Linked DNA regions of Homo sapiens: regions 2, 3, 4 and 5 are each linked to region 1. The links are contacts of gene promoters, found by promoter capture Hi-C in blood cells and fetal thymus (Javierre and others, 2016). All regions are on one chromosome and are shown on one strand. The core of a region is centred on a gene start or on the middle of the fragment in contact, and the rest is flanking DNA. Distances in the headings are between cores, read along the strand shown.

What was found. The method cuts DNA at HindIII sites, captures the fragments that hold promoters and counts their contacts. A CHiCAGO score of 5 or more calls a contact.
Region 2: a fragment that was not itself captured here is called in contact with the fragment with the promoter of NRXN2 in region 1 in 1 of 17 cell types (neutrophils); the score reaches 6.8 in neutrophils.
Region 3: a contact is called between a fragment that was not itself captured here and the fragment with the promoter of NRXN2 in region 1, in 1 of 17 cell types (M0 macrophages). The highest score is 6.8, in M0 macrophages.
Region 4: a contact is called between a fragment that was not itself captured here and the fragment with the promoter of NRXN2 in region 1, in 6 of 17 cell types (endothelial precursors, M1 macrophages, M2 macrophages and 3 more). The highest score is 9.6, in endothelial precursors.
Region 5: a fragment that was not itself captured here is called in contact with the fragment with the promoter of NRXN2 in region 1 in 2 of 17 cell types (megakaryocytes and M0 macrophages); the score reaches 7.2 in megakaryocytes.

What each region holds. Positions count from the first base shown.
Region 1 is chr11:64,721,801-64,724,590 of GRCh38, reverse strand. NRXN2 (neurexin 2) reads left to right here and starts at 1,394. Exons shown (of 23, transcript NM_015080.4): 1 at 1,394-1,620. RefSeq lists an enhancer at 504-553 and silencers at 934-1,233, 1,220-1,514. The HindIII fragment of the contact is 9,459 bases long and covers 1-2,278 here.
Region 2 is chr11:65,139,488-65,142,277 of GRCh38, reverse strand. No RefSeq gene overlaps it. Among named protein-coding and RNA genes, the nearest start is that of SYVN1, 6.4 kb to the right of the region's middle. The HindIII fragment of the contact is 8,517 bases long and covers 1-2,790 here.
Region 3 is chr11:64,350,056-64,352,845 of GRCh38, reverse strand. It overlaps CCDC88B (coiled-coil domain containing 88B), which reads right to left. Exons shown (of 27, transcript NM_032251.6): 17 at 1,591-1,686; 18 at 1,230-1,370; 19 at 460-716; 20 at 1-102. Among named protein-coding and RNA genes, the nearest start is that of RPS6KA4, 7.7 kb to the left of the region's middle. The HindIII fragment of the contact is 5,801 bases long and covers 1-2,790 here.
Region 4 is chr11:64,418,757-64,421,546 of GRCh38, reverse strand. LOC105369341 (a long non-coding RNA gene) reads left to right here and starts at 1,332. Exons shown (of 4, transcript XR_001748069.2): 1 at 1,332-1,410. It overlaps LOC124902689 (a long non-coding RNA gene), which reads right to left. Exons shown (of 2, transcript XR_007062720.1): 1 at 925-2,790; 2 at 477-815. The HindIII fragment of the contact is 311 bases long and covers 1,296-1,606 here.
Region 5 is chr11:64,448,873-64,451,662 of GRCh38, reverse strand. LINC02724 (long intergenic non-protein coding RNA 2724) reads right to left here and starts at 2,606. Exons shown (of 2, transcript NR_073177.1): 1 at 2,011-2,606; 2 at 6-1,766. RefSeq lists a silencer at 1,886-2,081, a cis regulatory region at 1,859-2,128 and an enhancer at 2,018-2,267. The HindIII fragment of the contact is 1,996 bases long and covers 463-2,458 here.

The DNA.
Region 1 (2,790 bases), core at 145-2,644:
TGGGCATGCATTAATTGCCTGGTGTAGGTACCTGTGTGCACAAGTGTGTGTGTTCTTGGGCAGTATATGCTTCCTGTGGGTGTGTTACCATGGTGGGGCATTTCTGCAGGTGTTCTTATGTGTCTCTGGGAATGCCCAGTGTTCACAGATATGTGTGCATGGCTGTGAGTGCCCCAATGTCCATGCATTGGTGGTTGAATGTAAGTGTTCTTGCATGTTGCCTCTGGCTAAGGAAGTGCCAACTACCACCAGCTGTGCAGATCACAGACCCTGCAACAGAAACCAGGGTCCTGGAGTGAGCTGGCAGAATGGTCTGGCACACATACACACACACACTCTGTCTCTCACTGTCTCATTCAGCAGCCCAGTGACCAACCTCGGGGTATACACACTAAGTGCCAGTGTGTGTACACTTTTATTGGCGGAGTGAGTGAAGGGTGTCCCCCAGTCCCCCACACTCATACACATGCACAGTGATGCATGTACCCTTACAGGAGAGACCTGCGCCCCCCAGCACCACTCTAACTGAAACTCATGGATGGGAGGAGGAGAACAGAGAAGGGGGCTGCTGCCAGGTGCCCTCAGTCACCAGGCATGTGCAGGCGCAACCCTGCCCCCACACCTACTCGTACCTCGGTCCAGGGTTCCAGGCAGAACTGAGAGTTTGGCCTCAAACTCTGGGATTCCCATGAGGCAGGACTGGGAAACCCCCAAGTTCCTAGGTCTACCCCGCCCCCATCTCTGCCTTTCCTTCCCCCACCGCCTCCGTCTTTATCCCAGCAAAGCCCCTTCCTCTTCAGTTCTGGGGGCTCCAAGCCAGGGGCCCTCCGGACGGTGGGAGGTGGGGGCCAGGCTACCGACTGGAAAAAGCCCCCAGCAGCCATGGACCCACCGAGTCCCCCTTCTCTAGGCTCCTCGAAGCCCGGGCCCGCCCCTGGGGGTAGCCAGCAGAGGGCGCTGCGGCCCAGGCCCCGCATCAGCCCTGCTCTCGCGGCGTCCCAAGTCGGGGTCCACAGCCTCTCCTTCGGCTTGTCCCAGCCCCGCGCTGCGCGAAGACCTGCTGGCCGTGGGGGGAGGGTGCGGGACCCAAGGCCCCGAACTAAGGGGCGAGGGGCGAGGGGCGAGAGTGCTTGGGTTCCCGGAAAAGACACTGAGGCCGGGTTTGGGGCCCGCCTGGTTGGGGGCCCGGGCGCCCGAGAACCTCGAGAGGCTGGGAGGAGCGCGGGTGCTGGGGCCGGGACGCCTGGGTCCCGCGCGAGGGAGGGAGTGGGCCTGTGGAGCCGCTGGACTGGCGGCTTCTGAGCCCTTGCATTGGCTGCGCTGCTCGCCCGTCAGCGCAGCGTGGTCCAATGCGCGCGTCTCGGGGGCGGGCACTGGTGCTGATGCTGCCGTCAGTCGGTGTTGCAGGGATGCGGCGGCGGGAGCAGCCGCCCTGACTCGCGGAGCATCCTCCTCGGAGAGGCACCGCGGCGGGGCGGGCGGGCGGGCGGGGACGCGGCGGGGAGGGAGAGAGGCGCGAGGCGGCAGACACCGCTAGCCCTGGCTCTGCCACCCGTCGGAGACGGGGCGGCCCTGTAGCTCTGCTACCCACCCTCCAGCTTCTGGCGCCCCGAGAACCAGGTAAAATGGGGGGGGGGGGGCGCTGCGGCGGAGACGGGCGGGGGGCGGGAGCCGATCGGGGGAGGGGAGCGGATCGGAGGGGGCGAGGGAGGCAGGACGGATGAATTGGGGGGCGGGGGCGCCGCGCTGAGAGGGCTGGCCCGGTGACAGCGAGGAGGCAAAGCCGCTGGGGGCTTGGGGGTCGGAGGCTCCTGTGGAAGGGGCACTGGCCCTGAGAGCTGAGGAGAATGGGGAGGGGTGGGAGGAAGGGTCTTTGGGGGAAGGGATGGAGAGAGGAGGGGCATCCAGAGGACTTAGAGGGGGTTCTTAAAGGGGGGTCCCCAGTCTGTGCTAGCCCCAGAGGCTTGAAGCAGCGCCGGGCCAGAGGAGCTGTTGTGTTCTGGAGGGTCTAACCAGCGAGAAACTGGGCTTCGTGGGAGGAGAGGAGAGGGGGCTGGAGAAGAGAGAGAAGTGGAGAGGGAAGGAAAGGGGCCAGGCCAAGGGCTTCGTCCTGAGGGGACCCACTGAGGACCAGGCTTTCCTGGGGGATGGGAGCCAAGGGGAGAAGAGGTTATTGGGAGAGAGCAGAGGGGAATGTGCCAAGGTGCTCCAGGCAGAGATGGGTCTGTGCTGGTGGAGAGCTGGGAAAGATGGGGTCTGAGGGAGAGGAGCGGAAGCTTGCGGGGGAAGGCTGGGGGTGATGAGACAGGGAGACTGGGAAATCAGTAGGAGGGGGCTTTGCTGGGGTGGGAATGCGCTGGGGGCGGTGACAGGGTTCTGGTCAGAGAGTGCTGCAGGGGGAGAGGAAGCTGCAGGGCCCTTGGCTTGCTCCCCCACCCCTAAAGAGGAAGGGACCATTTCTCATGTCCCAGCCTCCTCCCCCAGCTGAAGCAGCAATCTTCCCTGGGGTCTTTGGGTTGGGGTATGAGCCCTTGAACCCTTGATGGGCTTTTGGGGCACAATTGGCTTTGGGGTGCTGTTGTCTCCTTTACTCTCACCCCCCTCCTGAATCTTGGGAGAGGGCATTCGATGCCTCATTGAGCTAGCAAGGGCTGGGAGGGGCTTTTTCTTGGTGTCTGGAGGTGAAGGAGGAGGCTGTCCACCTGGAATAATGAAATAGATTTTTAGGGGGTGGGTCTTGGGTCCCCAGTCCCTTGGCTGCCCTGGGGGCTTCCAGATAGCCCTGTTTTT
Region 2 (2,790 bases), core at 137-2,636, 420 kb before region 1:
AGACTGTGTCTCAAAATAAATAAAGTGTACAATTCGGTCATTTTTAGTATACTCACAAAATTGTGCAAGCATAGCCACTATCTCCTCAGGAACATTTTTATCACTCCTCAAATAATAAACCCCATACCAATTAGCAGTCAGGCCCCATTCCTCACGCCACCAGCCCTTGGCAACCACTAACTACTTCTGTCTGTATGGACTTGTCTATTCTGGACATGTAACGTAAGTGCAGTGATATGAATGCTTTTTTCACTGAGCACAGGGTTTTCAAGGTTCATCAATGTTGTAGCATGAAGCAGTACTTCCTTCCTGTTTATGGCTAAATAATACTCCATTGTGTGGGTACATTACATTTTGTTTAGCCATTCATGGACATTTGGGTTGTTTGTACTTTTTGGCTATTATGAATAATGCTGCTACGAATGTTCTTGTACAAGTGTTTGTATGACCAGATGCTTTCAGTTCTCTTGAACATATACCTAGAAGTAGAATTTCTGGGTCATATGGTAATTTTATGTTTAATTTACTGAAGAACTGCCAAACTGTTTTCCAAAGCATTTACACTATTTTACATTCCCACCAGAAACACATAAGGGTGCCAATTTCTCCACATCTTGCCAACACTTGTTATTGTTGGTCTTTTTTTTATCACAATGATTTTAGTGGGTATGAAATCATCTCTCTATGGTTTTGATTTACATCTCCATAATGACCAGTGATGTTTAACATATTTTTTTGTGCTTATTAACCATTTTCTTTTCTTTTTCTTTCTTTTAGAGATAGGGTCTCTCTCTGTCACTCTGGCTGGAGTGCAGTGGCATGATCTTAGGATCATAGCTCACTGCAGCCTTGAACTCCTGGGCTTGAGCAATCCTCCCACCACAGCCTCTTGAGTAGCTGAGACTACAGCCACCACACCTGGATAATTTATTTTTTGTAGGAGGGGGGTCTCACTATGTTGCCAAGGCTGAGAGGATTGCTTGAGCTCAGGAGTTGGAGACCAGCCTGCGCAACATGGCAAGACTCTGACTCTACAAAAAATACAGTAAACAAACGAACAAATAAAAATTTAAAAGACAGACCTAACCATTCTCTCCCTAATGGATATGTGGTTCTATTGTCTTGTTTCACTATTTCAAACAATGCTGTGGCAATCATCCTTGGACTTAAAATCTTTGGGGTCATGTACAAGCTCTTCAACAAGATAGATTCCTGAAAGGGGAAAATCCAGGTCAAAATGTAAGTTTGCTTTCAACAACTTTTATGTCAACTTAACTGAGATATAATTGTATGTTAATACAATAAGATTTGCCAGTTTTAACATACAATAAGATTAGTCACTTACACAATTTGGTGTGCTTTAACAAACATGTATAAGTCAGGTAATTACCACCACTACCATGATATAGAGAATGTTTCCACTATCCAAAAAGTTTGCTTGTGCCATAGAGCAATCTGTCCTCTCCCCTAGCCTCTGTCCCTGGCAACTACTTGAGATGCTCTCTGTCACTAGTTCTATGAACATATATTTGCATTTATCTTGGGTAACTTAAGAACGGAATTGCTGGGTCATATGGTAAATGTATACTTAACTTTATAAGAAATTACCGAACCTTTTTTCAATATGGCTATACCGTTTTGTATTCCCACCTGCAATCTAAGATAATTCTAGGTGTTCCACATCATTACCACCACTTTGTATGACATCTTTTTAATTTAACTATTCTAGTACTAATAGTATGGCATTGCTTTCAATGAATTTATCTAATAATGATGGTGTTGAGCACATTTTATGGGATTATTCTCATCTGAATACCTTTGATTAAATGTCTGCTCAAAATGTTGGCCCATTTTGTATTAGCTTTTCATTTTTTTATTAGTAAGTTATAATATGTATTCTCAATATGAGTCCTTTGTCAGATATACGCTTGGCAAATATTTTCTCCCAATTTTTCTCCCTTTAACTGTCATTTGAACAGATAAAGTGTTTAGTTAGGATTAAATCCAATTTATCAATTTGTTTCTTTGATAGTTTATGCTATTTGTATCCTATTTAAGACATTTTTGCCTAACCCAACATTACTAAGATTTTTTTGTTTTCTTCTAGAGATATTACAGTTTTATGTTTTACATTTAGACCTACGGTTCATTTCAAGTTAAGTGTTGTATACGATGCAAGGTAGGGAATGAGGTTTTTTGTTTTCATATGGATATCCAATTATTTCAGCACTTTTGTTGAAAAATCATCTTTCGGCCGGGCATGGTGGCTCATGCCTGTAATCCCAGCAATTTGGGAGACTGAGGCAGGCGAATCACCTGAGGTCAGGAGTTCGAGATCAGCCTGACAAACATGGTGAAACCCCGTTTCTACTAAAAATACAAAAATTAGCCGGGTGTGGTGACACGCGCCTGTAATCCCAGCTACTTGGGAGGCTGAGGCAGGAGAAATGCTTGAACCCCAGGAGGTGGAGGTTTCAGTGAGCCAAAATCACACCACTGCACTCCAGCCTGGGTGACAGAGCAAGACTCTGTCTCAAAAAAAAAAAAAAAAAGAAAGAAAAATCATCTTTCACCATTGAATTGCCTTGTTACCTATATTGAAAATCAATATATTGCGGGGCGCGGTAGCTCACGCCTGTAATTCCAGCACTTTGGGAGGCCGAGGCAGGCAGATCATGAGGTCAGGAGATTGAGACCATCCTGGCTAATACGGTGAAACCCCGTCTCTACTAAAAATACAAAAAATTTGCCAGGCGTGGTGGTGGGCGCCTGTAGTCCCAGCTACTCGGG
Region 3 (2,790 bases), core at 1-2,500, 370 kb after region 1:
CCCCGCTGCCGATGCCCATCTTGCATCAGGCGTTCACGCTCTGCCAGCAGGGCCACCTCCTGTGCCTCCACGCTGGCCCGCTGGGCCTGCAGCTGCTCGTGCCTGGGATGGACAAGGGGCTAAGAGGGCTGTGTGAACCTATGGCCACCACAAGCAGCTGGCTGGACTATCTGGACCCGGGGCGGGGGGGTCTGTCACCTCCTAAGCCTAGGTCCCCCAGAGGAAGCCATTGGGCAGAATGCCATGCCAGGTGCCCACCACTCCCAATAGGTGAGCCCCACGGGGAGCCCAACCCAGAAGTGTGGGGAGCACAGCTACCCCAGAGGGCACAGCAGTGGCCGGGGCATCACAGAGCGGAGGTGGAGGTGCTTCCTGATGGGGAGTCAGACCTGCTGAGGGGAGTCTTCTCTGGCAGATAGGGGGTGCCAGGGGAGGAGCTGGGCATTTGGTGATGCTCACCGGCCCTGCAGCTCCCGGTGGGCCAGCTCCAGTGCCCGCATGTTGGCCTTGAGGTCTCGGTGCCGCACCAGCAGTCCCTCTAGCTCGGCCTCCTGCCGCCGCTGCAGCTGTGCCAGGGCCTTGTGGTCCCGAAGCAGGGCCTGCTGCTGCCCGCGGGTCTCCTCCTGGGACTGCCGTGCCGCCCGCACCTCCTCCTCCAGCACCTCCAGCTTCCGGTGCAGCTCCTGGCCCTGAATCTCCAGCACAGACTTCTCGGCCTAGGATGGAGGAGGGAAGCAGGGGCTGCTGGGGAGGAACCCCTGGCTGGAAATCGAGTGAGAGGCGGGGGGCTAAGGGCAGACGGTAGGGCCCAAGACAATGAGAGAGTTGTGGAGGAGGCAAAGGGCTGGGGGCACAGCAGGCAGTACAAGCCCCAGCCAGAGGCTGATGGTGAGCAGGGGAGAGGCGGCAGAGGCTGGCTGGGCCAGGCTGTCCGGAAGGGGCACAGGGCAGAATGGGACTAATGGCGCCCTGTGGAGGGGAGGGCTGGGACAGTGAGAGCGCAGGGCGACATGGGTGTAGATGTGGGGGCTGGCGGCAGGTAGGAGGAGATAGTGGCAGGGAGGATGGTGCAAAATGGTGGCTGGGGTCAGAGGACAAGGATAAATGAGACTGGGGAAGAGGTGGGGCAGCTGGCTGGGAGCTGGGATAGAAAAAGGCCACAGGATGATCCAAAAGGAGCAGGAGGGGGCAGTACATGGGCAGGGATGGGCACCCGGGCCACCACCCACCTGCAGGCGGCTGCTGTGCTCCTGCGCCCGCTGGCTCTGCAGCAGCAGCTCCTGGGCACGGCCCTGCAGGCTCCCCAGCTGCCCCTCCAGGTGCTGCAGCTGCCCCTGCAAAGCTGCCTTCTCTGCCACCAGCATCGCATTCTGCCCAGAAGTGGGGGTTAGCAATAGCCAGGTGGCGGGGGCACCCCCTAGTGCCTACCACAGGCCCACACTCACACTGCATGGGGCACCCCCACCCCCGGGCCCACTGTGAGTCCACACTCACACTGCACGGGATACCCCCCAGCCCAGGGTCCACCGTGGACCCACACTCACACTGCACGGGGCACCTCCCCAGGGCCCACTGTGGGCCCACACTCACACTGCGCTCCACCTCAATAAGCCGCACATTCTGGGTCTCCACCAGCTGAGGCTCCGCACGCTTTTTGGGCCCCAGCCCCGCGGGGCCCTGGCGCAGCTGCAAGGAGAGTCCCTGGGAGGTCATGCGGGACAGCCGCAGTGCCTTGGGGATGCCTCAAGGACCTGCGCTTATGGACCTGCCCTGCCAGCAGCATTTAGCCTAGTCCACCCCGCCCCAATCCCATGCCTTCCCTTGGATCCCACAAGTCCCTGCTCCTGGTTCCTGAAGCTCCACCGTCACCACCCTGCCCTTCTCAACTTCTGTCTCTCTGCGGCAGAGCCTTCTGCTCATAACACTTCTCCATCCCACTACTCCTCTAAGACTATTTGGTTTTTTGTTTTTGTTTTGAGACAGAGTCTCACTCTGCCACCCAGCCAGGAGTGCAGAGGTGTGATCTGGGCTCACTGCAACCTCTGCCTCCCGGGTTCAAGCAATTCTCCTGCCTTAGCCTCCCGAGTAGCTGGGATTACAGATGTGGGCCACCACGCCTGGCTAATTTTTAGGGTTTTTTTTGTTTTTTTGGGTTTTTTTGAGACGGAGTCACACTCTGTCACCCGGGCTGGAGTGCAGTGGTGTGATCTCGGCTCACTGCAACCTCCTCCTCCCAGGTTCAAGCAATTCCCCTGCCTCGGCCTCCTGAGTAGCTGGGACTACAGGCGCCCACTACCATGCCCAGCTAACAGCTAATTTTTGTTGTTGTTGTTGTATTTTTAGTAGAGATGGGGTTTCACGGTGTTCATCAGGATGCTCTCGATCTCCTGACCTCATGATCCATCTGCCTCGGCCTCCCAAAGTGCTGGGATTACAGGCGTGAGCCACCACGCCCGGCCTGATTTTTGTATTTTTAGTAGAGATGGGGTTTCACCATATTGGTCATGCTGGTCTCGAACTCCTGACCTCAGGTGATCCACCTGCCTTGGCCTCCCAAAGTGCTGGGATTACAGGCATGAGCTGCTGTGTGGGGCCTTCTCTAAGCCTCTGTTTCAACCCCACCTTCTCCACAAAACCTTCCCTGATAGACTCGCATGCACCTGCTGGGTATCTTGCTGGGTACCACCCTCCCAAGCCCCTGCATGGCCTCCTCACAGCCCCTGGCACCTAGTTATTGTCACCTGTTTTCTTGCCTCTATCCTGACTGTCCTGTGAGCTCCCTGAGGATGG
Region 4 (2,790 bases), core at 202-2,701, 300 kb after region 1:
AGGAATTCAGCCACCATATTGTGAGGACACTCAAGCAGCCCTGTGGATAAGCCACATGGTGAGGAAGTGAGGCCTCCTGCTAACAGCCAGTCCCAATTCCCCGTCTATGTCAGTGACTCATCCTGGAATCAGAGCCTTTTGGCAGTGGAGCCTATAAATGGCTGCAGCTCTGATCAATAACTTGGCTACAATCTCATGAGAAACCTCAAATCTGAGCCATCCTGCTAAGTAAACCATTCCAGAATTACTGCCCCACAGACACTATGTGAGATAATAAATGTTTATTGTTGCTTTAAGCCACTAAGTTTTTTAATAAACTTTTTTAATAGAGATGAGGTCTTGCTCCATTGCCCAGGCTCATCTCAAACTCCTGAGCTCAAGCCATCCTCCCACCTCAGTCTCCCAAAGTGCTGGGATTACAGGTGAGAGCCACCACACCCAGACTGTTTTTTAATAATTTGTTATGCAGCAATAGATAGGTAATACAAATGGTCATCCATTCTTTATTTAAATCCTTCCAGGATCAGAGAATTCATCTATTCATTCATTCAACAAACAGTTTAATAACTGTTGGTATCTACTCTGTGCTGGCCAAATAGTTACCACCCCTCCCTGTGGGAGCATGGTATCTCCCTAAGCCCATCAAGTCTGAAGACATATTTGATCATGTGATTCTCTGTGGCCAATAAAATGTGAACAGAGGGATATAAGCCACTTCTGAGCAGAGGCTTTAAAGTCATTTCTCAGTTCTGCCATCACTCTTTTTCCTGTGCCTCAAAACCAGCAGTTTCATAGCTGATCTTTCAGCCTGAATCCTAGAATGAAAAAAACATAGAACAGGCTCACACCTACTGCAGGCAATGTGCAACATTAATAAGAACAACCCTTTTTATTATAATTATTATAAGCCACTGAGTTTGGTACCTGTTTGTTACTTGGCATAACCCAGCAAAAGCTGACTGATACAGTCACACTGCATCCAGACCTGGTGGGATGACTTTTTTATCTGAGTCTTCTTTATCCTGGCTTTCCTCCTCAGAATGCTTCCTGGTTCCTAATTGTTTCTCAAAAATGTGCCTCCCAGGAGTCAACATGATGGAGTCTGATCAGCCCAGGGCATGTTGGCCTTCCTTTCCAAGACCTGGCTGTCAAACACTCACAACATGGCTCCTTGAGACTTGGGAAACTTTGTTGCCTGGCAGCCTCACAGCCTGGAACACAGAGCTTCCCACATACAGCTAGAGAAGAATGCCTCCAGGGACCAAAATGACGTCATGAGTCCACATTCTAAAGCTTGAGAACTTGTCCCTGAGGACAGATTTCTAACCTCCTTAGAACCTAATTAGGCTTCCCAACCTGCAATCTAACGAGCTTGGTGATGTGGCTGCCAAGTTTACAGCAGATTCAAAGGTATGAATTAAAGATAAATCAAAATGCCAGGCAACCCAGCAGAATCGACGAAACAAACAAGAGTTGGCTGAGCGCCAAATGGTGTCAGGCACGACCCATCTCACAACCATCTGTAAAATAGGTATTAATGTGCCCATTTTACAGGAAAGGAAACTGAGGCTCAGATAGGTCACTAATTTGACAAAGGTCACAAGCTTGTCAATAAGGATTCAAATGGGCATATGGTAGAGACGATATGAATGGCAGCTCCTGGTGCTGATTTTGGCATTGGTGCTGGTTGAAGGGAAGGCAGAGCCAGCGGGGAGGAAGAAAACCATGAGATGGGAGGGTAGGGGGAGATTTTCAGTGGAACAAGGACCCAAGTGGAGAAGGGATGAGCCCCGGGGTATGGAAGAGTGGGGTACAGGGGAGGAGGGAGCACCTGGGAGCCCAGGGAACCCTGGAAAACCATCCCCACCTCAGAGAGGGCCTTCCTTAGGGCAGGCCATCCCTCGCTGTGCTCCCCAGAAGGCCAAGCCCTAGCCTGGGTGACATGACCTGGCCACTGCACTGCACTGCCTTCCCGGGCTCACACAGCGCCAGGCTCTCACAGGACCATTTGTTGAGCTCTAGGAGTCTGGACCGATTGGCACATATGTATGGACCAGGACAACATCCAGTGCCAGGTTTATTGCTGCCAAGCCAGAATGGAGACTGCTTATGCCCATGGAAATGAACTTGCCAGTGCCGGCCCAGGCACAAGAGCTGGACAACTGCCCCTGGTGGGGGCTGCCCCTTGGAAGAGAGCAGAGGTGCAGCTGGCAGACAGGAGGGCCGAAGAGAGACGGACGGAAGCAGCTAGTGATCCCCTGCTCGGGACCCTGCTTCTGTCCAAGATCGCCTGGGTCCCGTTTCCTCCCGAGGAGGGCACAGAGAGAGCCCCAGGCATTCCTTCACCTGTTCTCTCCAGGGAGGCCCAGAGGCTGCACATTCCCCTCAGGACAGACAAGTGTCCGGCCCAGCACTGCGTGTGGGCACAGACAGGAGGAGGAGTTGGGGCACCAGCATTCTCCATCCAGACACCTGACTAAGACCAGGACCACCTGGCATTTTGGAAACCTTGATGAACACCTTCCCAGGGTTTATCTAAATTATTCTTTTTAACTTTTATTGTGGTGAAATATGTATATCGTAAAATTTATCATTTTAGCCATTCTTAAGTATACAGTCCAGTGACATTAAGTGCATTGTTGTGTGACCATCCCCACCATTCAGCTCCAGAACTTTTTCATCTTCCCAACCAGAACTCCACACTAACCCCCCATTTGCCCCTCCCCCAGCCCCTGGCACCCACCATTCCACTCTCTGACTCTATGCATCTCACTCCAGGTGCCTCCTATA
Region 5 (2,790 bases), core at 211-2,710, 270 kb after region 1:
TCCAGTTTCTTGTAAAGAAATATTTAATAGGGACTTAGGAGCAGAAGCGATGTTCCGGGCTGCCACAAAATGGTAGATCCCCACATCTGCCCTGCAGAAAGTACTTTTATGTAGCAAGCTTTTAGGGTAAAACATGTGCAGGTGGCCATATCTCCGATTTTAATGCAAAACTCATAGCCACTTGGGGAGGGGGTTAGCTAAGCATCTTTACAAAGGGTTATGTATGGTACAGGCATTGTTTAAAGAGCTTACTGCAGAGCAGCTTGGTATATGGGGGTGAAACATTCATCATCATATGGCGGTTTTAAGATGGCATCACTCTTGTCACACTGTTTTCCTGTACAACCTACAATAGAAGAGCCATTCTGGCGTGTCCACTTCTCTGAGACTTTGCATACCTTCCTCCAGGGCTGTTCTGACATCTCCACTTCATCGCCTATGCACTATCACTTCTTCCAAGCTTTCAAGAACTGCCTCAAGTGCTGGGCACTGTGGCTCACACCTGTAATCCCAGCACTTTGGGAGGCCAAGGTGGACAGATCACTTGAGGTCAAGAGTTCGAGACCAGCCTGGCCAACATGGCAAAATCCCATCTCCACTAAAAAAAAAAAAAACAATACATTATCTGGGCATGGTGGTGCATGCCTGTAATCCCAGGTACTCGGGAGGCTGAGACAGGAGGATCGCTTGAACCTGGGAAGTGGAGGTTGCAGAGCCAAGATCGCACCACTGTACTCCAGCCTGGGCGACAGAGAGAAATTCTGTCTCAAAAAAAAAGAACCCTCCCAAGCAACATATTAGAATCTTCCCAGGGCCTTTTTAGGGGTTAGGGAGTCTTTCTGTACTAATTAACTCTCCAGTCTCCAGCTACTATGCAGCCTCCCTTGATCTAGAACCTTCAGAGTCCACATCTAGGAACATTCTCTAGACCCGGCTGGTCCCTGCTGGCTTGCTCCCACCACTCCTCTGCTTGTTAATCCCTCTTGGTCCCTGGCATGCAAAGCACATCCTTGGTCAGGTCATGCTGAGATATGATCCAGCTTTGAGCCTGGTGGTCAGGAGGGGAGGTGGGGACAGATGCTGGAGAGAGGAACTCCTTATCTTGTAAGGTCCCTTCCCTTAGTTTCTGCATGGTCTTTAAGCAAAAGAGGACCTCTGTCTTCCAACAGAGGCAATGGGTCACTTCTGCAGGCCAGGAGGTACAGGAGAATCTGGGGGTTCAATGTCTCAAGAGTGTCTCCTCAGATAGTCCATCTCAGATATCAGGGACCCCACCCTTCCCTTTGGGGCCCTGACTTTGGAGAAGGGACTTCCCTGGGCTGGAAATTTGGCCTTCTCTGGAGTCCTGCACCTTGTCTTCTGCCCTCTGACCCCTGGCTATAGAAGAGAAGCATTTCGTTAAATTCTGCCAAGGAATCCTGACTTTGCTTTAAATTGGTGATGCGTGGCCCTGAACTTGTCATTTTCCCTCTTCTAAGTGTCAGTAGTATTCAGTGACAGCCTCCCCACTCCACGTCCTTCTCACGGCTATTTTCCCATCTGTCTCTCAACATCAGTGATATTAAACGAGCCGGGCATCCCCGTCCACCTGAGTCCTGTCCCAGGTGACCACAGGCGGAGGCCTGAGCAGCTGCTCTGCCACCTCGTGCCAGGGGCCTCCGCAACGGGCTCCAGTCACCAGGGGCCAGCGGGGCATCCTCCTGCAGCATCCCGTCCTTGGGGCCAGCTTCCTGGGGCCCCTCCTGCTGTTCCCTGCCTTCAGCTGTCTGAAAACAGAGCCCAAGACAGGGATTTACTAGGGGAGGGCTCATCCTGGGACAAGCCGCCCAGGATGTGAGGGCAGAGGGGCGGGGAAGGAGAAAGGACTCGGTAAAGGCGTGGTCCCAGGGTAAATACAGCTCTGGCAGATATGCAGGGGGCCCTGGGGCAGAGGTATCGCCATCTAGAGGCAGGCGAGGGAACAGTCTTTTGTACAGTTAGCCGTGGGCTGTGGGCGTCGCCTGAACGTACCAGGTATTGTGGCTCCATTGGCTGAGGATGCTTCTCCAGCGAAGGAGGCAGGGAGCCGGGGAAGTGGGGTGGGGTCGCGACACCGACAGCAGCTGCCAGACCAGCCATGCTGCGCTCAGCTCCCTCAGGCTGTCACTCTTAATCATCATGTCACTATCTCTGGGGCGTGTCAGTCACCATCAACGACGTGTCCCCCAAGCTGCAGAGGACGCAAATCCAGCTCTCCAAGAGGCTCTGTTGGCCCTCTCCACATGGGCTTGAGGTCAGGGGTGGGGGCACGTTCGGACCGCCCTCCTGCCTCTCTGAAGAAGATCCTCCAAGTCCCGGCTCCAGCTCTCCGGCCTCTTTGGCAGCTGGGCGGGTGGCCATCCAGGAGGCCCGTTCTCCATGCCCAGTTTGGCAAGGCTCCTTGGGACGCCGGGCTCGCTGCCCCTGTTTTCTTAAAGCTTCGGCCCAAAGGGACCCAGAGTCTGAGGTTAACACTCCGTCATCCCAGCGTGAGCGGCGCCTGACTCCAGCTCTCGACTCCCCCACCTCCTATCCCCTGCGCCGGGCTCACCCTGCACTCCCACCTGCAAATCAGCAGAGCAGAGGCCAGCGCTCCCGACGTCCAGCACCACCCCAAGCGAGGCAGGGGGAGCTGAGTGGCCGGGAGCGCCATCTAGTGGGTGCCAGGGGCGAGTCCCCGAAAGAGACTGGAGAGCCACGACTCGGGCAGGGCAGGATGGTGTCCCAGGGAGGGCCGGGGCCCAGGCGCTGGACAGCAGAGGACATAAAGGG